3 separate regions of the Homo sapiens genome follow, and all the other regions are linked to region 1. The links are contacts of gene promoters, found by promoter capture Hi-C in blood cells and fetal thymus (Javierre and others, 2016). All regions are on one chromosome and are shown on one strand. The core of a region is centred on a gene start or on the middle of the fragment in contact, and the rest is flanking DNA. Distances in the headings are between cores, read along the strand shown.

Region 1 (4,168 bases), core at 649-3,148:
ACGTAAAATTCAAACTGTAGTTTTCAGAAGGATCCCAGCAAGTGTTTAAATACATACATAAGTGCTTCTTTGTGTATCATTAGTTTGTTTTTCTTAAGTAGGTAATTCCAGTGCAGGTGAGGATGAAGACCTAGCCGATGTGTTTCAAGTTCATAAAAGACCTGTAAAAGTAGCATCGTGTTAAAACTGTAGCAATATTAATCTTGCTAAGTCAATACTGATGTTTGTAAACAATTCCTGTAACCTTGCATTTTATTTTTACAGTATATTAAAACATTACTCTTAACATTCGTCTGTCACTTCCTTCCCACAGGTGACCTATGGCTTTTTCCCCCCTAGAAAGGGCAGATTCTTTGCAAAACCATACTGAGTTGAACAAAACAATTATTAAAATCCTAAGAACAAAACCATGGAGAACATTTCCACCAAAGGGCTAAAACCAAACAGAAAAAGGAATATGTAACACTGTTCTTGCCTTCAAGACATGTACTGTCAGGTTAAACTTAAATCGATTCCACACACCCTTTTCTGGAAAAAAAATAAAACAAAATATTGCTTAAGAAAGCACTCTCCTTGTTTTTCTTTCTCCTGCTCCAGTTTCCAGGAAAACTTAAAAGTGTTATCTTTGTTTTCTCGTTATCATTATTATTGCTGCAAGATTGTTTTCAAAATTTAATCAATATGCTTTGCACACTGCTTTTGTCTTATGCTTTGTCTTGTTCAGTATTTAGTAGAGAGTTCATAATGTCTAAGTATTCGGGTAAAACTGCAAGTCAAAGGATGACAAAGTTTTAAAAATCTGTTTATCTATGGTTTTGTATTTTTCCAAAGAAACTACAATTTTCACCTGATTTCTGCATCCATTTTCATATCGCTTGAACAGGTTATATTTTTCCAACAACAACAAAAAGACCCGTTGCGAACAACTAGAAATATTTGGAAGTTTTGATATTTTGTCTTTCTCTTCTTTTTGATCACGGTAGTGATGGGAGAATAAACTTAAGTCAGAGATATTTACTGAGAGAAAGAGAGTAAGAACACACACAAAGGGAAAGAAAGCAGAAAAAACTTTACAAGTGCAAACTCAGTAGGAAACATTTTAGGAAATAAAAATGTTCCCCCTCTTTCCCTTGTTCAATTTCCATCCCCACAGAGGAAAAACAGAATACTTACAAGTTAGCATCTGCGTATTTATCAGTGTATGTGTGTTTTCTCTCTTCTCTGGGCTTGGATACTTTGAGCTAATTTGGAAGTGCCCGTTTGGTTGCCCACAAAATGATGCTTAAGGGTCTAAAAACGCATAAATTAGGGAGCCCTACAATGGCAAAGGACGGTCATTGTACCTCCTCTCTTTATGCGCTCTTACGGTGGGACCCAAGAGCCTTTTTTTTTTTTTTTAACACTTTAGGTGATGGAGCGAATGAGGGGCTGATAACTGGAGAGGACGAAGCAAGCCCCCGCAACACCCTCCCCCCAAACTTAGCAGCACGTTCCCCATTCCGCAATTATACCGGACTTTGGTGCGAAGTCACTTTAGAAAACTGGGATCTGGAAGGGGCCAGGCGCGGAGTCCATGTCTAGCCTCGACGCCAGCCTCCGAGTTTCTATTTCTGGTGCTCGAGGGCTGGGGTAACGGCCGCGGATGGAGGAGCGAAGGATGGGAAAAGCAAAGGATGGGAAAAGCAAAGATGGGAAAAGCAACGGGGAGTGATCTTTCCAAGAAACACCCAACTGCCCCTTTTACCTTTTTTTGCCTCCATTATGGGGCGGGGGTTGGGGGGGCGAGAGAAAAAGATGTCAATGACCATTGTTTGCTCGTTTGGGATGTTGCTCCGCCCCCCGAGTCTGTCGTAAACCTGGCGCCGGACTAAAATAAACCCCAGATCCCGCAGCCCGGGGGGCTCGCCGAGCCGCCGACTCCTCGTCACAGGCTCAGCTGCCGCGGCCGAGGTGGCGGCGACGAGCGGCCGCCGCGTCCTGCCGGCGCGCGCCCCAGGCCCCCCTACCTGGCTGCCCGCCGAGCCATGTCGTTGAGCCCAAAGCACACGACGCCCTTCTCCGTGTCCGACATCCTGAGCCCCATCGAGGAGACCTACAAGAAGTTCAGCGGCGCCATGGACGGCGCGCCACCCGGCCTGGGGGCGCCCCTGGGGGCCGCGGCCGCCTACCGCGCGCCGCCACCTGGGCCCTCCTCGCAGGCGGCGACCGTGGCGGGCATGCAGCCTTCTCACGCCATGGCGGGTCACAACGCGGCGGCCGCGGCGGCGGCGGCAGCAGCTGCGGCGGCGGCGGCCGCCACCTACCACATGCCGCCCGGCGTCTCGCAGTTCCCGCACGGCGCCATGGGCAGCTACTGCAACGGCGGCCTGGGCAACATGGGCGAGCTGCCCGCCTACACGGACGGCATGCGGGGCGGCGCGGCCACCGGCTGGTACGGCGCCAACCCGGACCCACGCTACTCGTCAAGTGAGAGGGGCCAGGAGCGCGGGGCTGCGGGCGGCTCAGGCGTTTCCCGCCACAGCCGAGGGGCGCGGGGGCGCGGGACGGGGTGCGCGCGGCTTAGGAGGTCCTGGGGCCGAGCGGGCGCGCGGGGCGTCCTGGGACGCGGCCCGGGACGCGCGGGGTTTCTGGGGACCCTGGGCGCGCGGGGGGTCCTGGGACCTGACCGGGAACGCGCGCGGCGTCCTGGGACCCGTTGAGGGCGTGGTGCTCTGGGACCCGCCGAGGGCGCGCGGGGCGTGCTGGGGCCGGAGGCCGCGGCGGTCAGGGGGTCTTGGGATTCAGCGAGGGCCCGGCGGCGTCGCGGCCGCGGCGTGAAGAGAGCGGCGGCTGGACCGGCTCCCGGCGGGCCTGGAGCTCACTCGCCTTCCCCCTTGGGACTCTTCCCCAGTCTCCAGGTTCATGGGGCCGTCGGCGGGCGTGAATGTGGCCGGCATGGGGTCGCTGACCGGCATCGCGGACGCCGCCAAGTCGCTGGGCCCGCTGCACGCGGCGGCGGCGGCAGCCGCTCCGCGAAGGAAGCGCCGCGTGCTCTTCTCGCAGGCGCAGGTCTACGAGCTGGAGCGGCGCTTCAAGCAGCAGAAGTACCTGTCGGCGCCCGAGCGCGAGCACCTGGCCAGCATGATCCACCTGACGCCCACGCAGGTCAAGATCTGGTTCCAGAACCACCGGTACAAGATGAAACGGCAGGCCAAGGACAAGGCGGCGCAGCAGCTGCAGCAGGAGGGCGGCCTGGGCCCGCCGCCGCCTCCGCCGCCGTCCCCGCGCCGCGTGGCGGTGCCTGTGCTGGTCAAGGACGGCAAGCCGTGCCAGAACGGCGCCAGCACGCCCACCCCCGGCCAGGCCGGTCCGCAGCCGCCGGCCCCGACGCCAGCACCTGAGCTGGAGGAGCTGTCGCCCAGCCCACCCGCGCTGCACGGCCCGGGGGGCGGCCTGGCGGCCCTGGACGCGGCCGCCGGGGAGTACAGCGGCGGCGTCCTGGGCGCCAACCTGCTCTATGGCAGGACGTGGTGACAGCGAGGGCGCCCCGGGGCTAGGTCCTGGTGCACCCGAAGGGTCTGCAAGAAACTGCTAGAACGGATGGGGGAGGCATGCGAAAACCGACTCGCGCGTGTAAACTGCGATTCAAAACGAACCGGTCTCAGAGAGGAGCAGGCTGTGAACCTCTTGCTGGGGGCGGGGGACAGCGACAGCCCGGAAACCGAGTAGTGTAACATTATGCCACGAGGCTTTGAGGTGGTGATTTTCTCCTCCTAGAAGTTCTTAAATGACGCGAAAAGGTGGAGAAGTTCACACGGCATTCTTAACTACAGCTCTCAAAGTTGGAAACTTTGTTGGCGTTTGTAACTATAAAAATCAACCCAGCTTTAACAATCAGTCCTTTTTGAAGTGGAATTTATCTTGGGAGATTAATTTTCGAAGGGCCCCCTAAGTGCAATTTCATTAATGTTTGATTGAAAGTAAATTGAAGTGTAGCTCAAGGTGGATCATACACATAGCAACATTATTGCAGAGGAATTATTGCCATTTAGGTAATAGAGCAATGGAATCAAAATAAAATACTGATTATATGGATTGATGGAGCTTTTTAAATTTAATGCTGATTTCAAAATGTTTTGATGATTATTTGGCAAGTGAGTGTTTGTATGTTACGCTAAAAGAGGATTTT
Region 2 (4,298 bases), core at 1,534-4,033, 270 kb after region 1:
TATTTATGACATAACATTAGGGTTACATTTTTGATTAATATATGGAACCTGGCTTGAAAACTGTTCCCACTGTCGTCTCTTACCTGCATGTATCAGACTGATTATATTCATAAAGTTTCTTTTCCAGGTCCAATCTCTTCTTTTCACTATAATAAAAAACATTTTATAAGTAATTACATGATAAGTAACAGGGAGTTGGATTTAGACCATGCTCTTCTTTGAAATAATGGCTTTGTTGCAAGGTGTTGATTAGAGGTCAAAAAAAGCCCAAATACCAAATCACACCTTTGTGAAAATGCTTCTCTGGTCTAAGAAGCAGAAAATGCCAGACGCATCTAAAACAAAAGGCACAAAAGTATGCAGCAGTCGCCAGGGAAATCTAAAAAACAAAACGAACACCAATAGGAGACAAAAGAATAAAATCCACAAAGTAAATGGGGAAATGCAATAGGAAAAGTCTGAGAAGCAGGTGCCTTCATTTAGCAAGTATTTCCTGAGTGCCTATGATGACCCAGGCACTGTTCTAGGCCTGGAGACTAATATGGCGAACTAGCCAGCCAAGACTCCTGCCCTCAAAGAGTTGACATTCTAGGGAGAAGGACAGACAATAATAAACAAGATAAGTATATAAAATGTAACGTGGCCAGACTTCTCTGAGTCGCTGGCATTTCGGTGATGGGGTCCCATCAGATCTTGTGTACAGATTGAAGACTGGTGGCTTGCTCTGTTTTCAACCAGACAAGCCTGGGCACAGCCAAGTGGATGAGATAGAGAAAGACCTCTGAAAAGTAAACCTGGCCTCACTTACATCTGATGAAGACCAGGCCTTCTAAGACCATCATTTCAAATTTGGAGGGATTTCTTTTTATAACTCTGTAATGGTGTCATTATTTGTCACAGGTTGCTGTTTTCCTGGAGCTACTACCAGTAAAGACTGAACCTGTGCTGTTCAGGTGAGTGCTAGCAGTAAGCTAAGGAGAAAACCTGTCTTACCCCACAACCAGCCTGGGCAAGGACGAGGGGGAACTGGGCAGCAGAGGAAGCAGAGGCAGCCAAAACCAGGGGGCTGGGGGATAAAACTGATGAAGCCATTCAGTCCCAAGAAGAGTGCCTGGGAGGATTAGCCACAGAGGGTTCCATCTGAGCACCACTATTTGTTTCAATCCCACCTAATTGAAGCTAAATTGCTCATCTAAGTTAACATTAAGTAAAGGCCAAAAAAGAAACCACATAATATTCTATCCAAGCAAAGAATCCTAAACAAAAGGCTGTGAAATAAAGATAAGGACTCCAACAGAGGTGATCTCAGGTTGGCTTCCTGAGGGAAAGGGGCTGGCCCCATGCTCCATTTGTGAGCTCTTAATTATCAGTTTCTATATATCTTCAGAATAGTTCTTTTCCTTTAAAAAAAAGATCATCCCAAAAGTCACTGTTAGCTACATTACAGGTTACATAACTTTCTTTCCTTTGCATAATGTTAAATGGAAACTACTATTTAACCAAAATTCATTTAATGGGAATATGGGGTCCAAAATCCAGACACAGAATCTTCACTTGGGGAACACAACCCATGGGTTGCAGTATGCCTATGTTAAAAAGAAAAAAAAAAGATTAAAAGGAAAAAAATTACAAAAACACACATTTTTAACTAATAGCATCACAAATCTTTACCTTCTCACTAGTAAGAGTGAACTTAGAATAGAAGTGAAGGAAACATAGCATAATTGCTTCCACATTAGAAATTTTTATTAGTTACCATTCCCCCCCTAGAGTTTCATGATCAATTGGGTACTTGGTTCATGCAGAATGAATGACTGGATAGTGTGAGCAACTTGTCATTAAATTACAAAGAAAGGAAGACCTCTGAATACATCTATGACCCCATGCCCTGAGGTAGTGCTTCATTTCTGTTGTATTCCTAAGAAAGCACGACTGCAGTCTGGTAATGAGACACCATCAGATAGACTCAGCTTGAGGGTCACCCTCTAGAATGAAAGCTGTACTCTATGAACTTGTCAGGAACATGAAAGACAGGGAAAGACTGAGGAATCGTTCCAGATGTAGGGAGACTGAAGAGACATGCCAGCCAAATGCAACCGCGGTTTGCAGGTGAGCCACTGGACCAGGGGGAAAAAAAAGGGAGCATCGTTAAGATAGCTGGTGAAATCTGATGCAGTCTGCGGACTGGTTTCACCACTAGGAGGGCTGTATGGTGTGATCATGTACAAGAACATCCTTGGCTTTTGGAAACACACATTGAAGATTTTAGGAGTGATGAGGCATCATATATGCACTTCTCAAACAGATCAGAAAAGGCTAATGGTTTTAGATAGACAGATTTAAATAGATACCCAACTGATATCTCAGTGTCAAAAATCTAATAAAATGTTAATAGTTGAGGGATCTGGGTGACAGGAACACTGGAGGTCTTTGTCCTATATTCGCAACTTTTTTGTAAGCTAGAATTTACTTTAAAAAATATATATATATATACACACATTTTTTTTTTTTGAGATGGAGTCTCACTCTGTTGCCCAAGCTGGAGTACAATGGCACAATCTCAGCTCACTGCAACCTCTCCCTCCTGGGTTTAAGGGATTCTGTTTCAGTTTCCCAAGTAGCTAGGATTACAGGCATGCGCCACCACACCCAATTAATTTTTGTATTTTTAGTAGAGACGGGGTTTTGCCATGTTGGCCAGGCTGGTCTCAAACTCCTCACCTCAGGTGATCCACCCGCCTCTGCCTCTCAAAGTGCCGGGATTATAGGTGTGAGCCACCACGCCCAGCCACTTTAAAATAATTTCTAAAATTCACCTATGACTTCTAGTGAAAAAGGACCACAGTCACTTTGGAAATCCACCACCTCCCAAGCAGCAAGTTCTTCTTAGTAATGAATGTAAAATTTATTTGTAAAACATCTTCAGCAGATGCAGACATCTGCTGCTCACACTTCTCTATCATAACACTTCATACCCTGATAATCAAACTCCTCTTGGCTTTCTCTCCCAGGCAAAACGGTGGTAATCTTGTTAACTCTTCTTCACAGGCCTATTTTCTAGCCCCTCATCCACACTGCAGCACCTCAGAATGCTGAGCCCTCCATGTCTTTTTAAAATTTAATACTAAAAACCAGATATTTGCCTCAATGAAAAGCCTTTCCATGGCTTGCAATTCTTACATATTAAATCTCTATTCAGAATCTTTGAAATACCCATCCCTGGGATGCTTACCCATAGTTCATGTTTTCAGTCACCCCTCACTTGGACCTTTCAGTTTTACACAGCTAAGTGGTCCTTATCTTGCTGAGTTTTCTACTTTTAAGCCACTTGTTATTCTGTTTTTGTCTCGATACCACAATTCTATACCATCTTCAGCTTACTCTACTAATATCTCAGTGTCAGTTTCTAGACTATTATGATATCTTACTCTGAATCAATATAGGCACTGAAAAAACCGCGGCTGGCTAATGGGCCCTTTTAAAAGGATGTTTTTGTATAACCGTAAGAGCCAATTCCACTTATAAGTTTCTACCATGCTTGTGGGTGCTATACACACTGTAACAAGTCACTCCATTAGACTCTTTTAGATTCAATTATTGACTTTCACCACAATGCAGAAAAAACACTGTACACACATAGGAAAACATTCAGACGATAAAATTACATCTACGTGTAACTACAGCTAACATGACTTGGGCTGGAAATATGCTGGTTATTTGACCAGCTAACATTGCAATGACCACCTCTAAAAGGGCTGAGAAAGAGGGAGTTTTTTTTTGTCTCCCACTTCCCAGAAGTTTCTGGATTGATAAAGCAGCTGTGACTACCCAGGGTTGCTCCCTATGAAATGACTCAGGAATTTTAGGAGACAGTGGTATCTGTGATCAGTGGGATGCTTTGTGTTTCTTTGTTTAAAAAGGTACAACCAAGGCCGGGTGCAGTGGCTCACACCTGTAATCCCAACACTTTGGAAGGCAGAGGCAGGCAGATCACCTGAGGTCAGGGGTTCGAGATCAGCCTGGCCAACATGGTGAAACCCCATCTCCACTAAAAATACAAAAATTAGCTGGGGTTGGTGGTGGGCGCCTGTAATCCCAGCTACTAGGGAGGCTGAGGCAGGACAATCGCTTGAACCTGGGAGGTGGGGGTTGCAGTGAGCTGAGATCATGCCATTGCACTCCAGCCTGGGTGACAGAGTGAGACTATGTTTCAAACAAATAAACAAACAAACAAAAAGGTACATCCAAACACTCAAATTGGATACAGACAATAATATTCTTTACACATTGCTTTGCAA
Region 3 (4,165 bases), core at 794-3,293, 290 kb after region 1:
ACTGTATCAGGATATGGAAAGCTATAGATCTGCCTCATCCTTTTAAACAGTTATGTAGAGTTTTGTTTTGTGGATCTTACATGATGCAATTTATCTAGTCCTGTTTTGATGAGACTGTTTTCATTTCATATACTATGATATTGACAGTGATGGCATTTAATATAGTAACTTGTATTTAACTTTTAAAATTGACATAAAATGTCATGGGGTAGGCATCTTTCTAGTACATCACAGCAGCGCCACACTATAGCACTACTAATAAGTCATTTGTCAAATGTGTACATGTGCCTTGCTTATGGAAACACGTGGTCTAGTAAATGCTGCTGACCAGTACCTCTGGGCTTTTAAAAACTTGCATCATTAAGTCATACTTAGAGCTGTGCACCACTACTGTAGGCTCCCTTCCCCCCATGAGATTTTAAAATATCCCATATCACTACTATTTCATTATCTTTAAAAAATTATCCCTTCTTGGCTTCAGTGACCCGCACCTCAGTCGCCACTTCATTTGCTGATTATGTTGCTACTTGAACCCACTCAGAAGAGTAATTCCTAATACCAGCCTTAGGATACAAGCATGGCATGAGGAGCCAGTGCTGGGCTATTAGTGTCCAATTACACACTGCTGGATGCTGTGTTATCATTGTTTCAAGTGCATTACTCCCACATCTGGTAAAACTAAAGAACATAGTCTAGAACCAGAAGACCTGGGTTCTAATTCTAGTTCTGCTACTAACTACCTTGATCATTTGTCAAATGACCTATCTTATTTTTGATTCCCCAAAGCAGATCCCACGACAAGGTTGGAGGGCACAACTAGTTTATTTTGGAGGTTATCCCAGAAAGTGGTTGAGAGACAGGGACCATTAGACAGAGAAAGGAAGGAAGCAGATTTAAGAGGCCTTAATGAGCAGGTTACCACTGAGGACAGCTGTGACTCAATTCAGCTGGGGACCTCTAAGGGACTATGGAAGGATAGAACAGAATCATCTTGACTGAGGGATGAGAAAGTAGGCTTTTGAATCTATCCACTCCCACCACTCATTGATGGAGGGTTGCTCCTTAGATTAACTCCTGCTATGGTCTGAATGTTTGCAATACTCCAAAATTCATATGTTGAAATTGAATACCCAGTGTTTTTTGTTTTTTGTTTTTTTTTTTTTTTTGAGACGGAGTCTTGCTCTGTTGCCCAGGCTGGAGTGCAGTGATGTGATCTCAGCTCACTGCAACCTCTGCCTCCCGGGTTCAAGTGAATCTCCTGCCTCAGCCTCTCGAATAGCTGGGATTACAGGCATGCACCACCACACCCAGCTAATTTCTCTATTTTTAGTAGAGACGGAGTTTCACCATGTTGGCCAGGCTAGTCTTGAACTCCTGACCTCAAGTGATCCACCCGCCTCAGCCTCCCAAAGTGCTGCGATTACAGATGTGAGCTACCACACCTGGTCCCCAGTGTTTTGATATTAAGAAGTGGTGCTTTTGGGAGGCAGAGCCCTCATGAATGGGATTAGTGCTCTTGTAAAAGAGGCCTGAGGGAGGCTGTTTGCCCCTTTTGCCTTTCCACCATGTGAGGATGTAGCAAGAAGATGCCATCAGTGAAGTAGTGAGTCCTTGCCAGACACCCAGTCTGCTGGTACGTCAATCTTGAACTTCCCAGCCTCCAGAATTGCGAGCACTCTACTTTCCTGTTGTTTATAAGTTACCCAGTCTAACATATTTTGTTACAGCAACTTGAACTAAGACAACTCTAGTATTTCCAGTCTTGCTTGCAATCTCCCAAGAAGTCCCAGCACCAGAGAACACCCTCAAACAGAGAGGTGGAGGATGTCCTGGACTGTACAGACACTATGTAACCTGCAGGGTAAGAAAGGAGAAATGAACTCTAACAGCATCAGCTATTTAGAAACAGCATGTGCATTAACTAAAAACATAGTTTTTAGTTCCTTAATGGAGCATATCATGATAGGCCAACAAGTGAGGATGCTTTGAACACTTGGACCTAAAGGGTATTTAGCACTTGGGAGCACAAAAGAAGTTTCCATGGAGAACTTAGAATATTAATCAAAGGACACTGACATATACTGAGTGCTATGATTCAGGCCTTGGCTGGGCTTTCAACATGTAGGTTCTTATTACTCCTAACTATAGCACGGCAAGGTGAGCATTATTATCCTGAGGCTTGGAGAGGTTGCTTCTCCTGTTCAAAGCCTGGCAGAAGACAGAGAAGTAGAGGGCAACCTATGGTCATCTGCATGACAAATGTCCTCTTAGGATAATGGGGAGGAGGGAAACCAGGCTGTGTCATTCTGGTTTCTACTGCCTTGCAGAGAACTAATAAGTGAGTTTAGCAAGGTTGTAGGATAAAAGATCAATATATAAAACTCAATTGTATTTCTATATACCAGCAACAAACAATAGGAAACTGAAAAATTTTAAATACCATTTACAATAGCATCGAAAACCATGAAATATTTAGGGACAAATCTGACAAAAAATGTGACAGAACTGCACACTGAAAACTGCAAATATTGCTAAGAGAAATGAAAGAAGATCTAAATCAATGGAGAGAAATATGAGTGAGGACACTCAATATTGTTATGACGTCAATTCTCTCCAAATTGATTGATAAATTCTACAAATTCCCTATCAAAATCCCAGCAGGTTTTTTTTTTTTAAAGAAATTGACAAGCTGTTTCTAACAGCCAAAACAACTCTATAAAGAAGAATTGTGGAAAGAATGTTGGAGGACTAAGACTGATTTCAAGCCCTATTATAGGACTACTAGAATATACTACCTTGCTTAAAGGGGAACTGTTCAACTTCCTCTCCATGCTCCAGATTTGCACTGAAGAACTCGGTGGATACACTCAGAAGCTGTCAGATGGAGGGCTTCGGGCATGCACAGGAAGTCTCACCCTGAGCCTAAGTCTTGGGCCAGTTGGTTACCTTGTGATATTAGTACTCTGGTGCCTTCAACAACAGACATACTTACTGGCTTTCTGGCCTTTGTTGCTGTAAGATGAGAGCAATGCTCTTTCCAGCTCTCTTTTATCCCCAAGCAGAACCTGAAGTCAGTGGGATGAATTTTAAATAGAAGGTAGAGGGGCCAGGTGCAGTGGCCTGTGCCTATAGTCTCAGCTACCTGGGAGAATTGCAGAGCCCAGGAGTTCAGTGCTGCAGTGTGCTATGATAGTGCCTGTGAACAGCCCCTGCACTTCAGCCTGGCCAACATAGTGAGACCCTGTCTCTTAAAAACAGAACAAACAAAAAAAAATAGAGGGAATGAAATTGTGGTCTAGAAGTGACAATATGAAATGAAGTGAGAGCCTCAGGCCAACTGGATATTGCAAGGTGTGTACAGCAACGAAGATAGCAATAAGTTGGAATTTTCTACCACTTCACACTCTAACACTCCATGGGATTCCTTCTCCAACATTCTTTTCCCTGTTTTAAGTTTCCTTGAATATTTCAGAGCTGAATTTCTCTATAGAAATAAATTTCTAATAAACATGTTGAAATTGTGACATCATTATCTTTGGGCAATAAAAAAAAAACAGAAAGAAAAGAGTTATCGGCTATGGGCAAGGAAAAGAAATACAAAGATTCCCATGACCCCTCAAGTCTCAGAAAATGCACCTGGGCATTCCAAGAGTAGGAAAATAATTGGACCTCATGTTTTTTTCTCTATTATGATATTCAACCTGATTTCTAGAATATTTTGGTGACATCATTGATGAGAAGTGTTACCTCTTGTTCTGTAGAAAGCCCATAGCCAAGGTCATTGCCATTATTTCACAAAAGCGCCAATAAAAACTCTCATCATAAAACCACAGAAATATTTCAGGGTTATTTAAGCAACTTAATAAAGAAGAATAAAACCACTTTTTCCTTAACCTACCGACTATTTAATTAACTTTATAACCTCTTCAGTGCCACAATTTTTATAATTTAGTAATCTGTCCATCTTATCGTATTTAAATCTTTATTCATTTGATTTTCAGCTTGGTGTTAAAATATGCATTGTCAATTTAATGACAGCAGAATAGTCCATCTCATTGATGAGTCTTGGGAATTTGAGAGCAAGAAAGTTCGAAAGAGCTAAAATGTCAATCTAGGACAAGATATTCACTACAGAGATGATGAAACTGAGGTACAGAGAAGCAGA

Evidence for each region. Contacts are between HindIII fragments. The CHiCAGO score rates a contact against its expected background, and 5 or more counts as called.
Region 2: a fragment that was not itself captured here is called in contact with the fragment with the promoter of NKX2-4 in region 1 in 1 of 17 cell types (activated CD4 T cells); the score reaches 5.1 in activated CD4 T cells.
Region 3: a contact is called between a fragment that was not itself captured here and the fragment with the promoter of NKX2-4 in region 1, in 3 of 17 cell types (activated CD4 T cells, fetal thymus and total B cells). The highest score is 7.6, in activated CD4 T cells.

What each region holds. Positions count from the first base shown.
Region 1 is chr20:21,395,256-21,399,423 of GRCh38, reverse strand. NKX2-4 (NK2 homeobox 4) reads left to right here and starts at 1,898. Exons shown (of 2, transcript NM_033176.2): 1 at 1,898-2,466; 2 at 2,891-4,059. The coding sequence starts at 2,025. The coding sequence ends at 3,513. LOC105372558 (a long non-coding RNA gene) reads right to left here and starts at 1,490. Exons shown (of 4, transcript XR_001754528.1): 1 at 848-1,490; 2 at 58-161. The HindIII fragment of the contact is 6,496 bases long and covers 1-4,168 here.
Region 2 is chr20:21,127,945-21,132,242 of GRCh38, reverse strand. KIZ (kizuna centrosomal protein) reads right to left here. Exons shown (of 13, transcript NM_018474.6): 2 at 84-146. Among named protein-coding and RNA genes, the nearest start is that of KIZ, 4.0 kb to the right of the region's middle. The HindIII fragment of the contact is 7,603 bases long and covers 1-4,298 here.
Region 3 is chr20:21,110,032-21,114,196 of GRCh38, reverse strand. No RefSeq gene overlaps it. Among named protein-coding and RNA genes, the nearest start is that of LINC00237, 5.8 kb to the right of the region's middle. The HindIII fragment of the contact is 7,305 bases long and covers 1-4,165 here.